Linked DNA regions of Homo sapiens: region 2 is linked to region 1. The links are contacts of gene promoters, found by promoter capture Hi-C in blood cells and fetal thymus (Javierre and others, 2016). All regions are on one chromosome and are shown on one strand. The core of a region is centred on a gene start or on the middle of the fragment in contact, and the rest is flanking DNA. Distances in the headings are between cores, read along the strand shown.

Region 1 (7,851 bases), core at 1,807-4,306:
AGAAGCATCAATTAAAGCTTCGATTTAGAAGTGTGCACATGTTGATTTTTTAATTTGAAACAAATATTGGGACTAGGGATAATCTTTCCCTAGAAGACAGGTTTCATATGTCAAGCAACAATGGTACTAATGCAGAGTGGAAATACAAACCATGCCATAGAGCTGGACAAGCATAGTCACAGTGTAGTATGGAAATGTGTGACATTGCTATGTGGACACTGTGGACACTGCCATGTCCATTTCTGTACTTTTGAAACAGAAAGGAAATATGAAATACTGGATATGATATGTGAGAAAGAATGTAACTTGAAAACCTGGTTAATTTCTAGACCTTTCAAACTATCTCAATTGCTCCACTTTTCAGGGAAAAGACAGTGTATAAAGTAAATTTTTCCCTCAAATATGACATTTGAAGAATTACAAAATTTTCATTTTGTCTGGCGATTTTCCTAACTAAATTTAAATTTACAGTCATCTTCTTGCAAATGTTGCCAGAAACAAAACGGAGTCACTAAGGAAAAAAAAAAAAAACTGGCAGAGCTAGGGAAGACTATGCAGAGAGGGTTCTCACACTTGTATACCTAATAAGAACAACTACCACGAAAGACTCTGCAAAAACCACAACCTTGAAAAGGCCATCACAACCTTACATGAAAAATGCCTCAAAGACATCTGCCCTGCCAGCAACTGTCTGTTTAACCTCTGACTGGTGTCACCGTTGTTATTGATATTTGTAGGCAAGGATAATTATTTCAAAACAAATATGTAATTCTCTTAATTTTTTTTCTTTAAAAAATTTGCCTTCCTTTACCTCCCTGAGTATGCACATCGTTTACTATTGCATATATATTCCCATTGCAATGCTCTATTCTCAAATAAATATCTTTTTCTTTTAGAGAGCCTCTTTTTCTGTTTGTTATTTAGGTAGACATTCTGCACATATTTGGCAAAAACTTACACGCTGTTGAAACTGAAACCAAGACCTCTTCCTCTATCTTCCATCTCTCAGGCACAACTCAATTTCTAACTCAGTCTTTGGCAATACTAATATTCCTTTCTGGTAACATAATTTTGACTGGATTACTGTTCTCATGTTTTAGGCCTAACTTGTTTAAAAATTTGATGAGTGGCCGGGCGTGGTGGATCATGCCTGTAATCCTGGCACTTTGGGAGGCTGAGGTGGGCAGATCACAAGGTCAGGAGATCAAGACCATCCTGGCCAACATGGTGAAACACAGTCTCTACTAAAAATACAAACATTAGCTGGGCATAGTGGCACATGCCTACAGTTCCAGCTACTTAGGAGGCTGAGGCAGGAGAATCACTTGAACCCAAGAGGCAGAGGCTGCAGTGAGCCGAGATCATGCCACTGCACTCCAGCCTGGGCAACAGAGCAAGACTCTGTCTCAAGAAAAAAAAAAGTTTGATGAGTGTGGGGCTAGTGTTGTGATAGTCTCCTGTGCCCTGCCAACTCTTTTGGATTATTTTTTAAAATGAGGAACATTTCAGATTTAGTTTGTAGCAATTCAACTTTGGGAGTCTTGCAAGAACTCACTTATTTTAATGGAAAATAGCCCAGGTTGTCTACCAGCTTTTCCTGAGCTCTGTTTTGGGTGTTCTACCCAAAATAAAAAACGTATAAACACAAAAATAGTAATGTTCATGTCTGTGACAGCCAATGTTAAGTCTCTGCTGTTGTCTATGGCTGTTATCCAAAAAGTAGATTCAATTCTGTCATGTATTGGAGTCTGGGAATGTTGTTAAGAGATACATACATTGAAATTTGGAGAGCTGCTCTGTATTTATCAATTAGGCAGTAATAATCTTGGATGAAGGCTAGTCTTATTAATGTTGTGAACCAGTCTTATTAATGTTGTGAACCAGTAGTGTCCCCAGGAATAGAGAACACTACACTACTCACTTTGCATTTTCTTATCCACATAATAGAATTAGTTAGTGATAACCCTCTTTACTCGGAATCGATTGCTGCCACATTTCTGCATGATACATAGATCTCTGCAAATATGTGATTTTTTTCCTAAATGGAGAAAATCCAAAAATTCTTCTTAAAATTTTTCATGGGCATACAAGAAGATAGGAGGTGACATCTTAAAACAAGTATCTCTGAACTTTTTGTATAAAAAAAAGCAACCTCTTTGCTCTATTATTAATACCACATGTGGTGATATGAATGCCCAAATGTAGACAGCAGTTATGAGATATTACAAGAGAAGAAAAAAGCTCTGCCGCTTATGGCAACTTACCCAAAAAGTTATCTTTGACTTAGGCTGGAGGTGCACATAGCATAGCTCCTAGAGTTCTGTTTATGTCATGAATATTTGTTACTCAAAACTCCATAGGCCAAGAGCTCCTGAAGAGAAGGTCACATGCTAGCAGCAATTGTCATTTTTTCCCTCAAATATTGCTATAGTATAATTTTGTTTGAATTATAAACTTCAGTCTTTATTATATTTGATTCTGGCATTTTGGTTTGTAGTGCTATAGTACAGGAAATGTTTTAAATGCTTTGCCTTTATGTAAGTGAATATCGGTACACACACATACACATACACACACAGACACAGACACACACACACACACACTCACAGCCAGTTTAGAATGTGGGGTAAGGAACACCAGACAAAGAGGGCAATATAAGAAAGAGAAGACATTGAAAACATTGGGAAGAGGCAGTAACAGAGTGCCAGAGAAGATAAGGCAGCTGGGAGGGGGAGAAACTAAGTGAGGTGGATAAACTAAAAGCATCCTTCTGGGTTAAAGCAGACTAAAAGCTTAGCAATTGCTTAATATCACCATCTTATCCTATAGATGTGGGAATAAAGGCTAAGGAAGGAGAAATGAAAATGCAGAATCATATGGGGGCTTTTCCAAGGAGGTATGAAGGAAGGTGAGGACAGGGAGAGCGGCTGGAAGTCAGGGGGTAAGAGAAACTCTAAAAATCAGGGCTTGAGGGAAATAAAAGGTGAGGTAAGAGGCTCAGGGCTGTGGGAGGCACATTTTTCTCTGAAAAGCAGTTTGGATGAGGAAGAGATTTGGCAGTTGGAAGAGAGAAGAAGTCACTACAGGGTACTGAGGAAAAGCTTTGCTGAAATTGGAGATCAAATACCAGCTCTGCCAGTAAGAAGTTGCATCTCCCAGTGAAATGCTGCTGCTGCCATTTCAACTGTTAGCTGTTCTCTTTCCTGGTGGTAACAGTGAACATGGTAAGAGTCACTCTGGCAGCTCCCAGCACTGGTGCAGGGGTTTGGATTTTAAAAAGCAAGCAGGGCTTTCCTAGGTGCAATTGGACACTAAGGGTCTGGGTCTTTCTGTCTCCCGCCCTCTTCAACCATTCTGGTGGTTGGGACTAGAACCTGAAGCCTTAAGGCAGTCAAATGTGTCAGACTTCCTGTGTTCTTTAGACTCTAGGTTCTTGTTTTCTAAATCATTTTCATTCCCATTCTTCCTAATTGTCTCCTGCTTCTCTCTTTATCTTCACCATCTTGCTTTTCCACTCTTCACAGCCTTCCAGGGGCCGACCTCCTTTCATGTTATCCAGACCTCGTCCTTTACCAATAGTACCTGGGCACAAACTCAAGGCTCAGGCTGGTTGGATGATTTGCAGATTCATGGCTGGGATAGCGACTCAGGCACTGCCATATTCCTGAAGCCTTGGTCTAAAGGTAACTTTAGTGATAAGGAGGTTGCTGAGTTAGAGGAGATATTCCGAGTCTACATCTTTGGATTCGCTCGAGAAGTACAAGACTTTGCCGGTGATTTCCAGATGAAATGTGAGTCTAGTCCACCGAACTGGGAAGAGTCTCAAGGACTCTCTTTTCTCTCTTTTTTGCAAAGTGTTGCTCTCTCTGATGCTTCTCCCTTCCTTTCTATTTTACCCAAATGCACGCACATGCTTTTCTTGAGTAGTCTCTCACTCCAGCTTCACACCATCACACCTCATATTTCAGATTCTTGCTGCCTCTGCACTCTTCTCTTACTCTCAGACTGTCTTCCACTTTGTAACCAGCTGCTGGTTTGTCTTATGTGAAACTTCTCCTCAAGGGCCCTTACTTCTCCTACCCTGTGCCTGAGTGATCTAACGTGTGGCTTTCTCCCCTAATCCATCTTTTCAATCATCTCCTCCCCGCACCCTCCTCTTGCTGGGAACCTCCACTCACTCTGGAATGCTGCACTCCTGACTGCACCACGCTCTGCCTCACCTCTCCTTTCATACTCACTGTACTCCTTTATCACATACCTTTGTCTTCATGGCATGCACATTTTTCTCAATGCTCTTGTTTCTGAAAATGTCTAAATGTTATCATTAGTTTTTAGCTCATCATCATTTTACACCAAATAACTTTATCCCCACCAAAATCTAAAATCCTAGGTTCTTTTCTCATGCCTTTTTTTCTTATTTGTGTTTAATAACTTGCTCTCTTTTCCCTCTACATAGACCCCTTTGAGATCCAGGGCATAGCAGGCTGTGAGCTACATTCTGGAGGTGCCATAGTAAGCTTCCTGAGGGGAGCTCTAGGAGGATTGGATTTCCTGAGTGTCAAGAATGCTTCATGTGTGCCTTCCCCAGAAGGTGGCAGCAGGGCACAGAAATTCTGTGCACTAATCATACAATATCAAGGTATCATGGAAACTGTGAGAATTCTCCTCTATGAAACCTGCCCCCGATATCTCTTGGGCGTCCTCAATGCAGGAAAAGCAGATCTGCAAAGACAAGGTTAGTCCTGCTGTTATTTCACTTCCCACCACCTCCTCTAAGATCAAGAGTAGGAAGATATCAAAGGATAGGAGCTTAAATAACAAGTTATTTGGTTCCCAAAGGAGTGAATGGGGTCGCTGTCCAAGCTTGTAGGTTTCTGAGTTCATAACCTCTGAACTCGAGTTATAACATGACACTTTTTTTTCTCCTTCCTGCCTTAGTGAAGCCTGAGGCCTGGCTGTCCAGTGGCCCCAGTCCTGGACCTGGCCGTCTGCAGCTTGTGTGCCATGTCTCAGGATTCTACCCAAAGCCCGTGTGGGTGATGTGGATGCGGGGTGAGCAGGAGCAGCAGGGCACTCAGCTAGGGGACATCCTGCCCAATGCTAACTGGACATGGTATCTCCGAGCAACCCTGGATGTGGCAGATGGGGAGGCGGCTGGCCTGTCCTGTCGGGTGAAGCACAGCAGTTTAGAGGGCCAGGACATCATCCTCTACTGGAGTAAGAAATAGCAGGGACCCAGGCTGGAAATGCCAGGAAGTGATCTTCAGGCATAGAGGGAGGCACTGGGGAAGGATAGAGCTTGAGAGATGAAAGAGGGAGAGATTGATTGATTGATTTCCCTGACCCCAATCCCAACAGGAGTAAAAATAGATAATCCAAGTTATCAAAAATGTAGGAATTAAGGACCTGTAAACTGGGTAGAGGGGATCAAAGGATGGATATATGGTGGCCAGGAATATGAGAGAGGAAGTTGGAAATGACCATACATTGGAAGTAGGTGGGCAAAGGAAGGCCAAGGAATTCTGTGTATAGTATCTGAAGTGACATCCTTTTGTCCTCTCTCAATTGCCAGGAAACCCCACCTCCATTGGCTCAATTGTTTTGGCAATAATAGTGCCTTCCTTGCTCCTTTTGCTATGCCTTGCATTATGGTATATGAGGCGCCGGTGAGTTGTGGGTGGTGTTGTTTTTTTTTTTAATATGTCTTTTCTGTTCACCCTTCCACTGTTTTTTACCATTTTATCTATTTAAAAATTGTTTATCCTCAATCCTTTCACCATATCCTTTCCCCAAACTCCCATTCGTTTTATGTGGACTTAAAAAAAATTCTGTTAAAATACACATAACATAAGGTTTACCATCTTTACCATTTTTAAGTGTACAGTTCAGTGGTGTTAAGTGTGTTCACATTGTTGTGCAAGCAATCTTCAAAACTCTTCTGTCTTGCAAGACTGAAACTCTATTCCTATTACGCTGCAAGTTCCCATTTCCCCTCTTCTCCAGGCCCTGGTTAGGACAGCTCTACATTCTGTCTCTATGAATTCTACTATTCTAGGTACCTTATATAAGTGGAATTGTAAATATTTGTCTTTTTGTGACTTATTTCATTTAGCGTAATATCCTCATTGTAGCATATGAAAGGGCTTCCTTCCTTTTTTGAAACTGAACAATATTCCACCATATGCGTATAACACATTTTGTTCATCCATTCGTCTATCTATGGACACTTGGGTTGCTTTCACTTTTAACTATCATGAATAATATTACTATGAGCATGGGTGTACAAACATCTTTTATGTGGAGCTCTTTTGTTCTTCTGTTTTTAACAGGTCATATCAGAATATCCCATGAGCCATCATCATGTCTCCTCTCCCATTCGCAATAAGTACCAAGAAGCCCAAGATATCAGCCCAAAAGTCAATCTTATCATATTTCAAATGATTTTCAAATTTGATGAAATCAGAGTTTTCATGTATTTTAAAATAAATTATTATTTAAACATCAGCAAAAAAGTACTTAAAACTGTAAATTTATTATGAGACTGTACTAACAGTGTGATTCACCCTGATTTTACACACATTAAAATGTTAGAAAAAATGTGTCTCAAAATAAATGAAATATAATACATATGACTTAATGGTGACTCCCTTTGGCTTCCTAATTTAAAACTTTTCTTTTTCTGCTTCTGGTTAAATATCATTTGTCAAAGAAAACCAAATATAATTATGCCAGAATCACTGTATTTGCAGAGATGCAGAGCCTTTTGGATGTAATTTCTTCTCTGTCTCTGCCTGGATGAATTTCTAGCCCTGAAGGCTCAGCTGAGATGTTTCTTCCTCAGGAAGACTTTCCTAGTGCTATAATAAAAGGAACTATGCAGAGATCCACTTTACACTTTACTCACAGCATTGGAGTTATTTTTGTTTTTCCTCCCCTTCTCTTTGTAAGTTCCTTGAGGACAGTGTTCCCTATTTGTAGATCTCTGGCAAGATCTCTTAGCTGCAAATTCATTTTCTCAGTAAAAACTATCTGAGTTGCTGTAACTGCCAAGTTAAGTGTTTTCTTTCAGAGTCATCTACTTTCTTCCATTTTTTTTTCTTTTTAGTTGATATTGTAGATTCTCCTCATCTTGCTAAAATAGTTTCCACTTAGCCAAAAAATATTATGTTTTCTTTATTTCTGTTCCAAACTCCTTTGGAGAAAACCACCCTTGGCTTACTACAGCTATAGTCTAGCTTTTAAAGGGTCATAGTGAGAGGTGAAGCCAGCTGCACTCCCTGGGTTGAGTGGGGACTCCTATAACTTTTCTGTAGCTAGCAAGAGTTTTGTAAAATGCACCAATCAATGCTCTGTAAAAACACACCAATCAGTGCTCTGTAGCTAGCAAGAGGTTTGTAAAATGCACCAATCAGTGCTCTGTAAAATAGACCAATCTGCACTCTGTAAAATGGACCAGCCAGCGCTGGTCCATTAATTAATAATTTTATAGGGGCCAAGCGTGGTGGCTCACGCCTGTAATCCCAGCACTTTGGGAGGCCGAGGCAGGTGGATCACCTGAGGTCAGGAGTTTGAGACCAGGCTGACCAACATGGCAAAAATCTGTCTCTACTAAAAATACAAAAATTAGCCGGGCATGGTGGTGCATGGCTGTAGTCCCAGCTACTTGGAAGGCTGAGGCAGGAGAATCACTTGAACCCAGCAAGTGGAGGTTGCAGTGAGCCAAGATTGTGCCACTGCACTCCAGCCTGGGTGACAGAGCAAGACCCTGTCTCCAAAAATAATAATAATAATAATAATAATTTTATATGTGCAAACATAAAGCAGTATAAAAACTATCCTTTGCTCATTAGA
Region 2 (7,851 bases), core at 2,209-4,708, 35 kb after region 1:
TGAATCCAGGACCTGGCTTTTTGAAAAGATCAGCAAAATTGATAGACCACTAGCAAGACTAATAAAGAAGAAAAGAGAGAAGAATCATATAGACACAATAAAAAATGATAAAGGGGATATCACCACTGATCCCACAAAAATACAAACTACCATCAGAGGATAATATAAACATCTCTGTGCAAATAAACTAGAAAATCTAGAAGAAATGGATAAATTCCTCGACACACACACCCTCCCAAGAGTAAACCAGGAAGAAGTTGAATCTCTGAATAGACCAATAACAGGCTCTGAAATTGAGGCAATAATTAATAGCCTGCCAACCAAAAAAAGTCCAGGACCAGATGGATTCACAGACAAATTCTACTAAAGGTACAAAGAGGAGCTGGTACCATTCCTTCTGAAACTATTCCAATCAATAGAAAAAGAGGGAATCCTCCCTTACTCATTTTTTGAGGCCAGCATAATCCTGATGCTGAGAGTTTTAGACCAATGTCCCCGATGAACACTGATGCAAAATCCTCAGTAAAATACTGGCAAACAAAATCCAGCAGCACATCAAAAAGCTTATCCACCATGATCAAATCAGCTTCATCCCTGGGATGCAAGGCTGGTTCAACATATGCAAATCAATAAATGTAATCCATCACATAAACAGAACTAAAGAAAAAAACCACATCATTATCTCAATAGATGCAGAAAAGGCCTTTGACAAAATTCAACAGCTGTTCATGCTAAAAAACTCCCAATACACTAGATATTGATGGAACATATCTCAAAATACTAAGACCTATTTATGACAAACCCACAGCCAATATCATACTGAATGGGCAAAACTGGAAGCATTCCCTTTGAAAACTGGCACAAGACAAGGATGCCCTCTCTCACCACTCCTATTCAACATAGTATTGGAAGTCTGGCCAGGGCAATCAGGCAAGAGAAAGAAATAAAGGGTATTTAATTAGGAACAGAGGAAGTCAAATTGTCCCTGTTTGCAGATGACATGATTGTATATTTAGAAAACCCCATCACCTCAGCCCAAAATCTCTTTAAACTGATAAGCAACTTCAGCAAAGTCTCAGGATACAAAATCAACGTGCAAAAATCGCAAGCTTTCCTACACACCAATAACAGACAAACAGAGAGCCAAATCATGAGTGAACTCCCATTCACAATCGCTTCAAAGAGAATAAAATACCTAGGAATCCAACTTACAAGGGATGTGAAGGACCTCTTCAAGGAGAACTACAAACCACTGCTCAATGAAATAAAAGAGGACACAAACAAATGGAAGAACATTCCATGCTCATCGATAGGAAGAATCAATATCGTGAAAATGGCCATACTGCCCAAAGTAATTTATAAATTCAATGCCATCCCTATCAAGCTACCAATGACTTTCTTCACAGAATTGGAAAAACTACCTGATCTTTCATATGAAATCAAAAAGAGCCCACATTGCCAAGACAATCCTAAGCAAAAGGAACAAAGCTGGAGGCATGGGAAGAATGTATATTCTTTTGGTTTTGGGTGGAGCGTTCTGTCAATGTTTATTAGGTCCATTTGGTCAAGTGTCGAGTTTAAGTTCCAAATACCTTTATCAGTGTTCTCTCTTGATGATCTATCTAATGCTGTCAGTTGGGTGTTGAAGTCTACCACCATTATTGTATGATAACATAAGCTTCTTTGTGGGTCTCTAAGTACTTGTTTTATGAACCTGTGTGCTCCTGTGTTGGGTGCATATATATTGAGGATAGCTAAGTCTTCTTATTAAATTCAACCCTCTATCATTAAATAATGTTTTTCTATGTCCTTTTTGACAGTTGTTGGTTTAAAGTTTATTTTGTCTGAAATAAAAATAGCAACCCCTGCTCTTTTTTCTTTCCTGTATGCTTGACAGATTTTTTGCCATCCTTTAGTTTTGGCCTATGGGTGTCCTTGCATGTGAGATGGGTCTCTTGAAGATAACTTACAGGTGGGTCTTGTTTATTTTTTTTTTTTTTGTCTTTTTTAACGTGAGACAGGGTCTCACTCTGTTACTTAGGCCGAAGTGCAGTGGCATGATCACAACTTACTGCAGCCTCCACCTCCCCAGGCTTGGGTGATCCTCCTACCTCAGCCTCCTCAGTAGCTGGGACTACAGGCATGTGCCACCATTCTTAGCTAATTTTCTTGGTTTTTTTGTAGAAATGGGGTTTTTCCATGTTGCCTAGGTTGGTCTCAAACTCATAGGATCAAGCAATCGGCCTGCCTTAGCCTCAAAGTGTTAGGATTACAGGCATGAGCCAGGGTCTTGTTTCTTTATTCAACTTGCCACTCTGTGTCTTGGGGTGTTTAGCTCATTTACCTTCAAGGTAAATATTGATAAGTGAGAAGTTGATTTTGTCATTATTGTTAGCTGGTTGTTATGTAGACTTAATTGTGTAGTTCCTTTATAGTGTCACTGGTCTGTTTACTTAAGTGCATTTATGTGGTGGCTGGTAAGAGTCTTTTATTTCCATGTTTAGCACTCCCTTAATGACTTCTTATAAGGCAGGTCTGGTGGTAATAAATTTCCTTAGCATTTGCTTTGCTGAATTTCTCTTTAACATATAAATCTTACTTGGGCTGGATATGAAATTTTGGGTCAGAATTTCTTTTCTTTAACAATGCTGAATATAGGCCCTCAATGTCTTCTGGCTTCTAAGGTTTCTGCTGAAAGGTATGCTGTTAGCTTGATTGGGGTCCCTTTGTAGGTGACCTGCTCCTCCTCTCTGGTTGCCTTTAGTATTTTTTTCTTTCACATTGACCTTGGATAATCTTATTATTGTGTATCTTGAGGATGGTTTTCTAGTGTAGTATCTCTCAGGAGTTCTCTGAATTTCTTGAATTTGAATGTTGACCTCTATAGTGAAGTTGAGAAAATTGTCATGGACAATATCCTCATATATGTTTTCAATTGTTTGCACACTCTCTCTCTCTCTCTTTCAGGGACATCAGTGAGTACAGGTTTGGTCTCTTTACATAACCTCATATTTCTCAGAGATTTTGTTCATCCTTCTGTATTATTTTTTCTTTATTTTGTGTGACTGAGTTAATTAGAAGAACTGGTCTTTGAGCTCTGAGATTCTTCCCTCAGTGTGGTCTATTCTGCCTTTAATACTTCCAATTGTATTATAAAATTCTTTAGTGAATTTTTTAGCTCTGTCAAATCAGCTTAGTTCTTTCTTAAAATGGCTATTTTGTCTTTCAGTTATTGTATTATTTTACTGGATTCCTTAAATTCTTTGGATTCCATTTCAACTTTCTCCTGAATCTCATGATTTTCATTGCCATCCAGATTCTAAAATCTATGTCTATTATCTCAGCCATTTTAGTCTGGTTAGGAAAGATTGTTGGGGAGCTAGTGTGTTCATTTGGAAGTAAGAAGACACTCTGACTTTTAGAGCTGCCTGAGTTCTTCCACGGGTTCTTTCTCATCTATGTGGGCTGATGTTCCTTAAACGTTTAAAGTTGCTGTCCTTTTGATGGGGCCTTTTGCTTTTATATTCTTTGATGCCCTTGAGGCTTTGACTATGGTATAGGTTTGGGTCAGTGAGCTAGCTTTATTTCTTGATGATTTCAGGGGGCCATGGCTCAGCTCAGCACTCCTGGGCTATATGCTCTAAGACTGAGGGCCTGGGACCAGGCCCAGAACCTTGTTCTTTGGCCCCTTGAGACTGAGCACCTGCTTCACTGGAGGGGGCCAAGGTGCTCCCAGTCCACTAGCAACAACACTCCTATGGTGGGCAGGGTGGGGGGGTCCCAGAAAAGCATTTCATAAGGGCAGTGGCGGTGGGGGTCTGCTCTCACATGCATGTACTGGCAGCAGTGGGGCAGTGGCATGGTGGGGTCCACACTCACTCACATGCTGGTGGTGGTGGGGCAGCAGGGTAGAAGGTCCATGCACATGTACACCAGGGATGGTAGTGTGGCAGGGTACATGCACGCATGTAGGCTAGTGGGGACAGTGCAGCAGTGGTGAGGTCTCCATGCATATGTGCACAGAAGTGGTAGCAAGGCAGTGATGTCTGTGTATGTATGCCAGCAAAGCAGTTGTGGGTGCTGAAGGCAGGTGCATGCTGATGTGAGGCCAGTGACAGAAGCTATTTGGTGGTTTGGTGGGGTCAGCCAGTGAAAGACCTATGGCAGTGGTCTCTGAGAACTGCCTCAGTTGAACATCTGAGGCTGTGCTGCAAGCAGGTACAGACAGGCAGGGATCCTGGGAGAGGCCAGCAGACATGGGGTGGGGGGCTCAGATCAGTCTAGCCCCATCCAAATATCATGGTAGCCCTATTCTGTCCAGGTCTGATAGTCAACAAAGGGGTCAAAGCCACCTAGAGGAGCATGCCAATCCTCGGGTAATGGACATCCCTAACCATGCTCCACTGTAGCTGTTCTCACACCAAACCCTCTGGGTTCCATAGAAGCTGGAGTCCTGTCCCTGCCAACTCTGCAAGTAGCTTTCCCTGCCAACTCAAATGTCTGTGTGGGTCGTGGGGGTCTCCTGCAGCTAGGATTCCAGAGGTTCATGGATAGAGTGGGCCACTTCATGCCTATTTAACCAACCCCTTCCCTAGAAGCCACTGAGGACCAAGAATAAGTCCTAGTGTTTGGCAACCCTGTGTAGGGTTCGCAGCTTCTTCCCCCCTTCAGCCCAGGGTCTGCATTCTCCCTCCATCCACTCTCAATGCCTTCTTTCCAATGATCTTCTCAGAGTATACTGCTCTTCTTGATGGTCTTGTCTCTTGGTGGGAGAAGCTCTTCCTGGCTGCATCTAGTCAGCCATCTTGTCTCTTCTCCCAAAAATAAGTTTAATTTTATATATTTTTGGCTTTATTTCCCAGTTTCCTGGGTGTCCTAGAATCCTCTCTATTGATCTCTCTGTATCTGCAGGTCACAGGGTGACTAAGGGTGCAGGAGAGTCACCTAGGGCCTCCTGGTGCCAAGGAAATGAGCAATGGAAGCAGGACCCAAGCTGGGTGAGTGGGCACAAGGAGACAAAGGCCCTGCCAGATCTGGGAAGCCACCTCCTCCTCCAAAAAAAGTTATATTCATACATGGAATTCTATTCAGCAATGAAAAGGAATGGTTACTAATACACTGAGCAGCATGGATTACTTACAACCATATGCTAAACTGAAGAAAAATAAAAGGCAATACCAAGTAGATATGTTTATTTCCATCTTAATAAAATCATAGAAAATACAAGTTTAAGCTTAAGTGACATAAAGTATATCAGTAGTTGCAAGAATGCCAGGTTGTTGGTGTGCTTGACTACAAACAGGTATGAGGGGTTATGACATTTAATATCTTGATTGTGATTTTGTTTACATGGGCTTATATAATTATCAAAATAAATAGAACTGTACACTTAAAGATTCAAATTTTACTATAAATTATACATCAATAAAATCTATTTAAAATTTTTTGAAATAAATAAAAACATGAAAACAATAGAAAAGAAACATGGACAGATTGAGGAAGCAAACATTGCAACTTCAGGAGAGTGGACACAATCTCATTTGTTTTATCCACCACCAGTTTAGAAGCTGTATGTGCCTGTCTCAACTCAGTACCCAAAAAATATTAGTTGAATTAGTGAATGAAACCTAAAGGGACTAAAGTTTAGCCAAGGCTATCTCAGATAACACAGTCCTTTAGGAAATTTGTCTTCCATATACAGCACAACGGTTGCCTTGATCCCACTCCAACCCTGAGGACCAAATCTCTTGTTCCTTTTCTTAAGTATTCTGTGACATATCTGCACCACTGATCATCACATGTAACTTGCACACTCTCTGTCTATTTGCATTTGTAATTCTCTGTGTTTAGAAAATAAGTGTATCAAGGCACAAGGCTGCACTTTTCCTTAAATGTTTAAGGAGAAAATGAGGGAGCTAAAGGAGAGTGGAATTTATCTGCTAGGTATGAAGCATTTAAACAAAAAGAGAAGCATGAATATTTCCAATGCTACAACAACATTGGGAAGGAATATAATGAGAAAAATTGTCAACATGACAGTTAATCCAACTTAGATATGATGTTTTGTTTTGTGTTTCACTGAGCCTATCATATGCAGGAAAGGCACATTTATCATGATCCTTGCCTCCTAAAAGCTTAAAAATGTGAAATGAAAGACTCAAGTAGCTGCAACACAGGGTAGGAAGTGTTGCATGCACATAACAGTTGAGGGGCTCTCTGGGTTCAGTATGGGTCAAGGAAGATCGTTGGAGGAAATGACATCAGAAATGGGCTTTGAAGGTTGAGTGCTATATAAAAAGTGGAGATTCCAAGAAAAACATTCCAAATTAGAATTTGGTTTTTATTAACAAATGTTTATTATGCAGAAAGAGAAACAATTTAAATGGAGAGTCGACGGGATGGCATCACTATATTGTACTAGGCTCCTGGGTTGCTGGGTTCTTAACACAATGGGGGAGTCAGGGGGAAGAGTCTCACAGGATGTCCTGATATGAGCTGTGAAGGAACAGGAATGGGAGAAACCCTGAATAAGTTGGAGGTGGTAACTGAGGATAAGGTGGAGTAGTCAATAGAGAAAAGCTAAGAGAGTGAAAAATGGAATGTGAAATAAGAAACTGGGAGGAGAGGAGGAAATACAAAAAACTCACCAGTGCTTCTTAAACCATAACACAAGGACTATTAGAATCACCAAGGGCACTATCACTACCAAGGCAATCCAATTCATGGAAAAGTGGTGTCCTGCACATATTGGAAAGATACATGGATGCCATTTTAAACTCACTGCTGATTCTATTCCATCTATTGATTTCCTTACTTAACATATGCATTGGATGAGTTGCATCAGTTATCCTATTTCAGTCACTCTATTCCAAAACTTACTCAAGGAAGGATTCCTCATTTCCCCTTAAATCTCTAGTATCCATGTATCCCTTAGGTCTTACTCCACTATTCTTTAAATTACCCTATACATTTCTTCCTACAATCCCTCACCTAGGTCTGCTATCCTCAAAATTTCCTCTCCCCTAACCTCTAGGCTCAAGAACCACCTACCTACACTTCCAACCTCCAGTCTTACCCCAGTAGAGGATGATGTCCTGGCCTCCTAGACTGCTGTGTCTCACTCGACAAGACAGGCCAGCAGGCTCCTCAGATGCCACCTCCAGGATCACCTGAAGATACCATGTCCCATCAGCATTAGGAAGAATATCACCATGTTTAGTGCCCAGTTGCTCCTGTTCATTCCGCATCCATGTCACCCAAACAGGCTTTGGGTAGAAGCCGGAGGCATGACAAACCAGCAACAGCTGGCCAGACCCAAGGCTGGGGCGACTGGACAGCCAGGCTTCTGGCCTCACTGCAGAGAGCAGAAAAAGTGTTCTGATGAAGAAACTTACACACAACTTACATCCACATACACACATCCACATGAATATGCACAGTTATCTTTTTCCTGCCTCTAAGAAACTATTACCCAGCAACCCCCCTGCTTCTTGTCCTCTTTCTTGTCCTGAGTTTGAAGGGTGGGAACAGAAGGGGCAGTACTTGAATAGAAAAATCTTAGAGGAAGGGGCTGAAACTACTGACCTTGCCTGTGTACATACATCTTCCCTGCATCCAGGAGACCCAAGAGAAATCGGGGGCAAGTGCTTCTTATGAGATTATACACTGTTTCTGTGACGCCTTCATACTGATGATTGAGTAGATGACAGACACTTTGGGCCAAACTTCCACAGCCTGGAGATGGCACCCATGTTGTATTCTGGAAACTCAGTAAATCTAATCCGTTGAAAGCTACCTGAAAGAAGCCTTCTGGGCTCTTTCCAGAATGCAGCTCACAGCCCGCTTTCACCT

Evidence for each region. The method cuts DNA at HindIII sites, captures the fragments that hold promoters and counts their contacts. A CHiCAGO score of 5 or more calls a contact.
Region 2: a fragment that was not itself captured here is called in contact with the fragment with the promoter of CD1B in region 1 in 1 of 17 cell types (fetal thymus); the score reaches 7.9 in fetal thymus.

The regions. Positions count from the first base shown.
Region 1 is chr1:158,326,736-158,334,586 of GRCh38, reverse strand. CD1B (CD1b molecule) reads left to right here and starts at 3,056. Exons shown (of 6, transcript NM_001764.3): 1 at 3,056-3,224; 2 at 3,525-3,791; 3 at 4,457-4,735; 4 at 4,939-5,217; 5 at 5,573-5,666; 6 at 6,330-6,632. The coding sequence starts at 3,164. The coding sequence ends at 6,351. The HindIII fragment of the contact is 309 bases long and covers 2,795-3,103 here.
Region 2 is chr1:158,292,099-158,299,949 of GRCh38, reverse strand. CD1C (CD1c molecule) reads right to left here. Exons shown (of 6, transcript NM_001765.3): 3 at 7,585-7,851; 4 at 7,076-7,354; 5 at 6,648-6,738; 6 at 5,176-6,495. The coding sequence ends at 6,474. It also overlaps a transcript of CD1B not described here. Among named protein-coding and RNA genes, the nearest start is that of CD1C, 6.1 kb to the right of the region's middle. The HindIII fragment of the contact is 3,555 bases long and covers 1,681-5,235 here.